3 separate regions of the Homo sapiens genome follow, and all the other regions are linked to region 3. Evidence: promoter capture Hi-C in 16 types of primary human blood cells and fetal thymus (Javierre and others, 2016). All regions are on one chromosome and are shown on one strand. Each heading gives the region's core, a stretch centred on a gene start or on the middle of the fragment in contact. The rest is flanking DNA. Distances are from core to core; before and after follow the strand shown.

Evidence for each region. Contacts are between HindIII fragments. The CHiCAGO score rates a contact against its expected background, and 5 or more counts as called.
Region 1: a contact is called between a fragment that was not itself captured here and the fragment with the promoter of EXOSC2 in region 3, in 1 of 17 cell types (endothelial precursors). The highest score is 5.4, in endothelial precursors.
Region 2: a contact is called between a fragment that was not itself captured here and the fragment with the promoter of EXOSC2 in region 3, in 3 of 17 cell types (M0 macrophages, M2 macrophages and endothelial precursors). The highest score is 5.8, in M0 macrophages.

Annotation. Positions count from the first base shown.
Region 1 is chr9:130,960,656-130,963,701 of GRCh38, forward strand. No RefSeq gene overlaps it. Among named protein-coding and RNA genes, the nearest start is that of FIBCD1-AS1, 22 kb to the left of the region's middle. RefSeq lists a silencer at 1-108 and enhancers at 1,821-2,408, 2,409-2,995. The HindIII fragment of the contact is 504 bases long and covers 1,091-1,594 here.
Region 2 is chr9:131,012,498-131,015,933 of GRCh38, forward strand. All of the region lies in intron 1 of LAMC3 (laminin subunit gamma 3), which reads left to right. Among named protein-coding and RNA genes, the nearest start is that of LAMC3, 5.0 kb to the left of the region's middle. RefSeq lists enhancers at 1-304, 305-872, 873-1,440. The HindIII fragment of the contact is 5,876 bases long and covers 1-3,436 here.
Region 3 is chr9:130,691,998-130,695,029 of GRCh38, forward strand. EXOSC2 (exosome component 2) reads left to right here and starts at 1,783. Exons shown (of 9, transcript NM_014285.7): 1 at 1,783-1,916. The coding sequence starts at 1,795. RefSeq lists an enhancer at 1,846-2,035. The HindIII fragment of the contact is 5,769 bases long and covers 1-3,032 here.

The DNA of each region.
Region 1 (3,046 bases), core at 93-2,592, 270 kb after region 3:
CCTGCTGATAGGTCCCCACAAGCCTGGGGCTCGGCTGTGACCAAGAAGAGCACCCTTAGCCCCCACACCCAGCCCAGCTACACTTTCCCCATCTGTGAAATGAGGTGTCTGGATTCGACTGTGGTTGGAATACTCTGTTCAAATGTGACTTCATACAGAACCACCCCCGTCCCAAGGGTTGGGAGGTGGTTATTGAAGGGCCCAGGGCACCCTGCTGGCCTCCCATTCCCCCTCCAGCAGCCCCTGCCTTCAGCCCCCGCAGAACCTGAGACTGCAGAACACATCTTCAAATCCCTGACCCAGATGGATGCTCTGTGGATTAACATCCCAAACTTCTGCACATCGGGGAGGCCTCCCTTCTCACACAACAGATTGACATTGGCCCATTCCAACTGGGCCCAGGCTCCTGGCCAGCCTCGCCGGCGATTCTGACTGGGCCCAGGACAGCTGAGCCAGGGTCCCCAGACATCAAGGGGGGTGGGGGGATGCAACTAGAGTAAGGGGATGTGTCTCTTGAAGGAAGGGGCTCTTCCGAGGATGGACCCTGGGACACTTGGGGCTCCATAGTGCTGCTTTGGGGTCCAGGGACCAGGCCTTGACCCAATGCAGGTCCTCAATCAAGGGCAATTGGACAAATGGCACCAAGTGGGGGTGGCCAATCTCATGCGTCCCTGCTGACGCTGGTGGTGCAGGGAGTCCTGAGGCAGAAGGGGGCCGGCATCCCTGGGCACTGGGAGTGTCAGTGGGGCTTATATCTGGGTTGGGACAGGGGTGAGTGGGAGGGATTTGGTCTCGTTTCAGAGAGAACCAGGAACCCACTGACAGATTTTAAATGGGAGCCCCACGTGATCAGATGGTACTTGGAAGTTCACTCTGATCCTGAAGGGAAATGGATCGAGGGGTTGGCTGGGGCTGCACAGAGGCCAGGAGAGGTGATGTGGCTTGGACCAGGGTTGGGAGGAGGATGACAAAGTCAGCAGGGCCTAAGGGCTAGAAACATGTTTAGGAGAGACAGGCTTCAAGGAGAGCCCCTCGGCGAGTGTCTGGTCCGGGCCTTTTGACAATGGGATGCTATTCACCTCAGCAGGGAAGCTTGGGTGAGGACCAGGCGTTTGGGGTAGATCTGAAGCTCCATATTGGATGTATTGAGCTGTGGGGGAGCCCTGGAACACCCCATGGGGGAAGTTGAGGAGGAAGTAAGACACCCAGAAGTGAAATACAGTATGGCTGGGCTACAGGCAAAGGCTGGGCTGCAGGGACAGGTTGTGCTGCAGGTACAAGCTATGGGGACAAGTTGTGCAGCAGGTACAGGCTACAGGGACAGGCTGTGCTGCAAGTAGAGGCTACAGGTACAGGGTGTGCTGTAGGGACAGGTTGTGCTGTAGGGACAGGTTGTGCTGTAGGGTCAGATTGTGTTGTAGGGACAGCCTACAGGGATGCACTGTGCATAGTCTATACATCACAGGTAACTGAGGATGAATGGGTCAGTGCTGAGACCAGGACAAGGCATGGGGCTGAGTCTTGGGGACCTGCCACTTGAGAATTCTAGGTCACCGCCATCCTTCACCAGGCCAAGATGAAGCATGAGAGGAAAAGCTTCCTCTGCTTCACGGCCTGTGAAGACATCAATAAGGACTGGCGGGCTCCTTATGAGAAACACTTGGAGACCCCAGAAATATCAGGGGTGAGCTGAGAGTAGGCTGTGGTCCCAAGGTCATGTCAATGGGGGTGGGGGAGCAGTGAAACAACGGCCATGCAGTTCCTGTTGCTGTGTCAGAGCTCACAGCCAGCAGGCCTGGACCTCTGGACTCAGGTGTGTCCACGGCAGCCCTTCCAAGATGCCCTGATTCAAAGAATGCGGGATCTCCGAGTCTCAGGCAGTTATTTTGGAGTCAATGACAGGGACCCATCTTATCCCATCTCTGTGCACCCCCACTCCCAGGATGTCCCCATCTGACCTTCCACTCCAGCTGTGGCTCCTGACATAGGTTGGGGAACAGAGGGACTGAGGGAGGAGGGGGCAGGCCTCCCATTCTGTCCAACAGAGGCTTCCTGGAATGGGGCAGGCAGACTGAGTCACATCCCTGTGACTCACGTGGCCCGTCAGACATTCTCATAATATTAATAATGAAAGGGCAGCTCCCTCGGAGACCGCAGGCCCACACTTGGCTCTGGCAAGAGCTTGGAATGCCAAGTTTTCCTAGGGACGCCACCAGACAGATGAGGGAGCACCGGCTGCAGTGGGCAGGGCAGCTTTCGCGGCAGCATGCCCCCGCCCCGGGGGGCTGTCTGGGATGTCTTTAAGGATGCTTTGTTAAGCCCCATTAAATATGCATCAGCCCCCATTAAACTTTAATGTCCCACTTATAGGTGTCACATTTTTCACCTCCTCCTGGGATGGGAGCCACGGAGAACTGACGTCTGGCACTTGGGGACCCAGGCAGGGGCTGGGCTGTGAGCAGCCTGGCAGTGCGTCCCTCGGCCAGCACCCAGGCCTAGGGCAAGGGCCGTGGGAGATTGTGCCCCTGCGGCGTGCGGTGTCTCATGCCCCAAACCTCACCACTCCCCTCCCCAAGGCTGGAGAGCTCCACCATGATAGTCGGAAAACTGTCAAGAACCAGACAGTAAATGTTTTAGACTCTGCATATGCATCTTTGATTTCCTTTTTACAACCCTTTAAAAATGCGAACACCATTCTTAGCTCACTCTATTAAAGAAAAAAAAATGATTCAATGGCACTTGTTAGGAGACATGGTTAGGAAAACTTTATTCAGAATCATCAAGGACCATGGCAAGGGAGCCTGAGGCTTGGGGGATTGGGCTCAACTCCAAACACAGCCTGGACAAGTGGAGATTAATAGCCGAGGAGCAGGGTGCGGGGCGGGGGGGCGGGGGGTCAGCGAGTGAAAAATCCCCACGAGGAAACATTAGAGGAAAGGAGGATTCTGCCTAAACCAGCCCAGCAGGATTCTTGCTGATGGGCCAGGGGATCAGATCACCTCGGGGATGGTGGAGGATGAGGAGCCTGATCGGATATCCAGTTTAG
Region 2 (3,436 bases), core at 208-2,707, 320 kb after region 3:
CGTCCCGGCCGCCCTGCCTCCTCAAAGACATCCTGACGCTGGTCTCTGTTTACGCACAAGGGGCGCCGGGGGCCCAGCGCAGCCCCAGATTTGGCCTCTTTTTGGTTTCCTATGACTTAGGTTTGCTCCAGGCTAAGCCATGGCTTGCATAATAGCGGGGGAAGGAGAGGCCTGGGATTGTCGGTGTCCCCTGTGGAGGCCGTCTGATGACCTCTCCTCCTGGTCCTTAGGCCACCTCTGCTGGCTCTGTCCCCCCACTGCTCCCTCTCCTTGAAGGCTCATGGGAAGGGAGAGTGGGCGGCCAGCTCTGGCCCGGGGTCTCCTAGAGGGAATGGGGTGAGGGGCAGGGAAGGAGATGGAGGTCGCCGCATTCCCAGCCCCCCGTGGCTCCTGGACATCTGTTCCGGATCCTCCCGTCATCTCTGAGCTGAGCCTTCCTGTCTGGGATGAAAGGCAGCAGTGGGCTCTGGCAGCCCCAGCCCACCACCAAGGCCCAGGGAGGCCACGGGGCTGGGGCCTGGGAGTCAGTGGGGTGTTGGGGGAGTGGACAGTGACGGGGGTACAGACCATTCCGGGGCTCTCACCGTGTACCAAGGACTCGCCCAGGCGGCATCCCAAACCGGCATGCTTTGTTCTTTTACAGACAGCAAAACTGAGGCACTGAGGGTGAGATCAGTTGCTTGGGGTCGCACAACTCAATAAATGGTGGCCCCCGGGACCCTCCCCCTAACTGCTGTACTTGGGAATGAAGAGGGTCCAGGCTAGGCTGGTCCACATGCTTGAAGCCTCGGTCCTGGGAGGAACAGTATGGGCTGTGGCTTTCGGTGGGCTGGGGGAGTCTCCTCCCGGCTTGCACTTGGATCGCTGAGAATCTCCTGGAACCACAAAAAGACCTGAGTCCCCCAAGCAGATGAGTTCTGCCCTCCCTCCCCCGCAGGTCCCGGATGTCCCTGCATGGAGTTGACTTCTTCTTGCTTTCATTTAGCCGTTTGCTTGGTGGTCACCCAGCCTTGGCTCACTGGCCACAGGATGCAGCTGTGAACAGGGCCATGTGCGGCCCCTGTCCTGAGGGGCTCAGGGCCCACCAGAAGGCAGCCTTTACTGAGCAGTGCTGAGAACGAGGATGTATGCTCAGAACATGCACTGGTGCGCACGAGCCTCATCTCTAGGGTCAGGAAGGGTCTCGCTGAGACCTGAAGGATGGTAGGAGCTGACCAAAGAGGGAAGGATGTTCTTCGACCTGCCGGGCCTGGATGGCCTGAGTGCAGACACCGAGAAGACGCTGGGGTCTGGCCAGCCACAGCGAGGAGCCGGGTCCCAGGGTGCTGGACATTAGGGGGACCCTGTGGCCCCTGAGGGGTCCTGGAGCCAGCTGGGTCTCCTGAGCCTTGGCTCCGTTCTGTCTTCCTGTCGAGTGGGCGGCTGCGATTGCCTTGGCCTGGGCCAGTGCTGGGGGCCAAGTCCTCCCTCCTGCTCCCTGGGGGTTCTGGCTGGAACGCTGGGCCCTGAGCAGGGCAGGAGGTCAAGGCAGCGGCTGGTTAGCCTCCATCCACCCACAGAACTGCCCTCCAGGCCCCTGGGCCCAGCTGGCCTTGGCCACCTCTTTCTCTCTGGGCCTCCCAGGACTAATCCAGGAGATGCAGGGCTAGGAAGTGGCAAAGCCCAGGATGGGTGTAGCCAGCCTCCCATGGCCTCTGCATCATCCCTGTCCACTTCCCACACTGCCCTTCAGCAAGGCCTTGGCTGGGCCGAGGCACTCTCTCTCCTCCAGCGCCTTACATGTGCTGTGGCTTCGGCCCAGCGCACTTCTCCTCCCACCTTCAGCCTAACTCATGTCTTGTTCATCCACAAAACCATTGCATGTCTGCCGATCCCTGTGCTGAGCCCTGGGGATGTCTGTCTGCCCCACTCAGCTTAGAGGTGCCTCCTCTGGAAAACCCCTCACCCCTCTAAGGTTGGGCAGAAGGCCTGCCCACGCATCCTTGCAGCCCCTAATCCTCCTTCCACCAGAGTCTGGATTACACTGCGTGAGGGCTTGGTCTGTTTACGTCCATCCCTATCTCTGGGCTGCCAGAGGGAATGCCTGTTTTCACACCTGTGCCCCAGTAGTGCCCAGCCTGCATTTGCCCACTGCACAGGGTGCTGGGTAAAGGTTGGTCAGGCGAATGAATGGAAGAGCAGCTCAAATTTCATTGAGGCTGGGTGAGGCTCACACCTGTAACCCCAGCACTTTGGGAGGCAGAGACGGGAAGATCACTTGAACCAGAAGTTCAGGGTCAGCCTGGACAACAAAGTGAGACCCTGTCTTTACAAAAATAAAAATAGAAATGAAAAAATTAGCCGGGCGCGGGGGCAAGTGCCTGTAGTCCCAGCTACTTGGAAGGCTGAGGTGGGAGGATCGCTGGAGCCTGGGAGTTCGAGGCTGTAGTGATCACACCACTGCACTCCAGCCTGGGCAACAGAGCGAGACCCTGTCTCAGAAAAAAGAAAAATGTAGTTGAACAAATGCTTCGTGCCTGGGACTGTTCCAAGTGCTTCCAAGGCATTTGCTCATTTAGCCCTGTTATTGTTATGCCTATTTTGCAAATGGGGAAACCAAGGCACTACATTGCACAGTCACTTGCCCAGTGAACCCGAGGGAGTTCAGCTATTTTGCCCAAGGCCACAGAGCCAGGAATTGGTGGGGCTGGGCTGTGAACCCCAGGGTTGCAAGATTGCACTGTGTTTCCTCGCTCAGAGCAAGGGAGTGAGGAATTCATGGATGAAGGGCCCCCAGCCTTGCAGGTGCCTCCCGTACTCCTAAGCCACGGTGTTCACAGCAGTGCCGCCGTCCTCCCAGCCCAACCCTGCCCTGCCCTGCTCTCCCTTGCCCAGGCTTCAGCTGCTTGGTCTACCTCCCTTCCCTGTGGCCCCTTGTCCCCGGGCAAGCCCTCCCAGCAGCCATGCCCTTCCCCAGCTCATGCCCTGGCTTTGCTTATTTGAATCATAGTCGACATCCAGGACTCCACCTGCACCCCTCGCCCTGACTCGGTCTCCACCTGAGCCCTCGACTGGGTAATTTGAGCAGCCGCCTTGACACCAACCACTCTGAATGTCATGCAAGGGCCCCCGTGTGCAAAGGCTATGCAAGGGCCCCTGTGTGCATAGCAGCATTTTCTTTTCTTTTTTATTTTTTTGAGACGGAGACTCGCTCCACCGCCCAGGCTGGAGTGCAATGGTGCGATCTCAGCTCACTGCAACCTCCACCTCCCAGGTTCAAGCGATTCTCCTGCTTCAGCCTCCCAAGTAGCTGAGATTACAGGTTCCTGCCACCACACCCAGCTAATTTTTTGTATTTTTTTGTAGTTACGGGGTTTCACCATGTTGGCCAGACTGGTCTCGAACTCCTGACCTCAGGTGATCTGCCCTCCTCTGTCTCCCAAAGTGCTGGGAATAC
Region 3 (3,032 bases), core at 533-3,032:
ATAAAAATAAAAAAAGGTGCGTGTGATGATGCAGAAAGAGGAGCACTGGGGATGGGAGAGGGGGAGTCCCTGTCGTTTTGGATTCTAGTCCCAGTTACGGGTCTGTTTGGGGGGCTCGGTGGCCCCAAGTGATCATCAGGGATAGCAATGCCTATCTCGAAGATGGGCTGAAAGTGAGGAATACATAACATAGTATTTGTAAAGCACTCAGCAAAGGACCAGCCGAAGCACTCGGGCTATTTCTGGTAAAGGGTGCAGGCTCTGGGGTAAATCGCGTGCAGTTGGAACACACATCGGCTTTGCAGCCATCTGCTAATGTGAATTCCATTCCTTTTGGGGCCTCGATTTCCTCCTCCATAAACTGGTATCCACAATGCCAACCTTGTGAACGCTGTGAGAATGCGCGGGGTAAAGGCGACGTCTCTCCCTCCCGGGAAGAACTTGGATGGTGTCAGGCCTACACTCTCGCTCCGCCTAGGGCCGCTCGCTGGGCCTGGCTCCCCGGCTGCCGGGCTACGCGAGCTCAGAGGACACCATCGCCCTCTTATGGCCGCGGCAGGACTGGACCGAGGGGCTGGGCTCTAGTGCCTTCCTCCAGGCACGGCAGAGGGCGAGGGTCTGGCAGCCCGCTTACCCAGGGCCTCGGGGCACTAGCATTCATGTCATCGACTGCCTGGCAGGGCTGGCTTTCTTAAGTGTGGTCGTGAGACTTGCTTAAGTGGAAGAAATGCTGTCGCTTTGGAGATTTATAAAACAATTGGCTCGATGGATCTTTCTTCAGGAGGCGGACTTGGTTTACCGGCTTTACTGACCACAGCTGATGCCAATGATTTCATTTAATCGTCTTTAGAGTCCCTGTGCATGGGGAGTTACCATCCCCAATTAGTTTCTTGTGAATGCAGGGCAAGGAGAGGGAGAGGGTAGTGGGGGACGGGGAGAAGGGGCGAGGGGTACCCTCCTATTAAAACGGAGCCGCAGAAAAACCCACAGAGACATCCGTCTGTTCCCCGCTGAGTCCTTAGAACAGCGCCTGGCACACAGAGAGCGCTCAACTCGCTGTGTAACTAAATGCAAGCCAAGATCTTCGCATTGTGTGTGCTCTTCCCTTCCCTACCAAATATACCTGGCTTGCAAGGTTTGACCTGTTTTCTTAGACGATTTTTAACTTGTTTCCAAAAGAAATATTGGAGTAAATTAGCTTGTTCAAAGGAGTCCTTATGAAAGGACAGAACCAAGTGAGAAGTATCTGGAGCCCGGTTTGGGGTTATAGATGATGATGTTGAGCCAGCACCCACGGGGCGGCCGCAATGTAGAATCCTGGCGCTACTGGGAACCGTGTGGAAAGGGGCTCTTCTTTCTGTTCAAATAGTGTTTTCTGTAGATCCCATCTCTCCATCCTCCTGAGCTCTCTCTTACAAAATATCGGATTTCAGCAGCTTAGAATTGGACAGAAACTCAGAGGTCCGTTTCTCAATTATCTCTAACCCTGGTAAACAATAAATGGGATGATGAGTACAAGACAGTTTTGGTAAAAAGTCACACGCCACACAACGTGAGATTTTATTATTCCACGGGTGCTTCCTTGCCAATAGTAGACATGGCAGCTCGGCTCCCTTCCCTTCGGGTTCGCCTTATTGTTGCCAATTGTAAACATGGCCTCTAGGCCGTGAGTTCTCATTGGCAGCTGCTCTGAGTCCCCGCCCTTCCCCGCCCCTCCGAACGCGGCCTGGAGTTGTGGAGTCGGATATCGCAGCTCCCGACTGAGCTGCGCCTGCGCAACTCATTGGCGCCAAGATGGCGATGGAGATGAGGCTTCCAGTGGCTCGCAAGCCTCTTAGCGAGAGACTGGGCCGCGACACTAAGAAACATCTAGTGGTGCCGGGGGATACAATCACTACGGACACAGGATTCATGCGGTACGTGGGGACTTGGGGGAGTCGAGGCTTCAGAGAGCGGCTTCAGGGCTCTCTGCACGTGGTCCAGGCCTCGTATCCCTGTGTGTGTAACTCCCCGCGGGACCCAGGGCACTTCGTCTGAGCATCCTACACACCTCGCTTCCGAGCCTCGTGCTTCTTGCTCCCTGCATCTTGTGTGTCCCCGTCTGCATTTGTCTCAGCTCCCTGAAACCCTCCACTCCTGACCTCCGGTGGCTGTGACTTTTGGGTCTTCTGCCTGAAGTCCAAATCTTTGATCCTTCCTTGTGGGAGACCTGGAAAGCTGGGGAGGGTTAGGTGCAGGCTCTTTTCCAGTTTTCAGCTCTCTGAGGGGACGGTGGGCGTTCTTGGCTGCCTCCTCTTCAGTTTAGAATCCGTAATTGTTCGATCTTAGGGCAAACAGTTACATTGTGCTGCATGCACCCATTTATACACATTTTGAATCTAAGGGGTGTAGTGCAGTGTATTGTGGTTAAGAGGGAAGGCTCTTGAGTCAGACAGTTGGGGTTCCGGTCCTGCTACCATCACATCTTATTAGCGGCATTGCCTCTCCACGGTCAGTTTCCTCATCTGTAAGATAGTGATAATAACAGTATGATACGGTAATGAGGATTAAATGAGACAATTATGTAAGAAAAGAAGTAAAACCAGCCATTATATCATCATAGATAACACTAGTGTTTCAACCTTTATTATTATTATTTTTTTACTTGTATATGTACAAGGGGCACAGCATTCATAGCATTGCCCTTTAACCTGTTAGTTTAAGGTTAGTGGATACCAGGAAATTTTTTTTTCTTTTTTGAGACGGAGTCTGTCTTAGATCAGTCGTGCGATCTCGGCTCACTGCAACCTCTGCCTCCTGGGTTCAAGTGATTCTCCTGCCTCAGCCTCCTGAGTAGCTGGGATTACAGGTGCACGCCACCATGCCTAGCTAATTTTTGGTTTTTTTTTTTTTTAGTAGAGACAGGGTTTCACTGTGTTGGCCAGGCTGGTCTCGATCCCCTGACCTCAAGTGTGATCTGCCCGCCTCGGCCTCCCAAAGTGCTGGGATTACAGGCATGAGCCACCATGCCTGGCCCCTAGGAAATCTTAAGA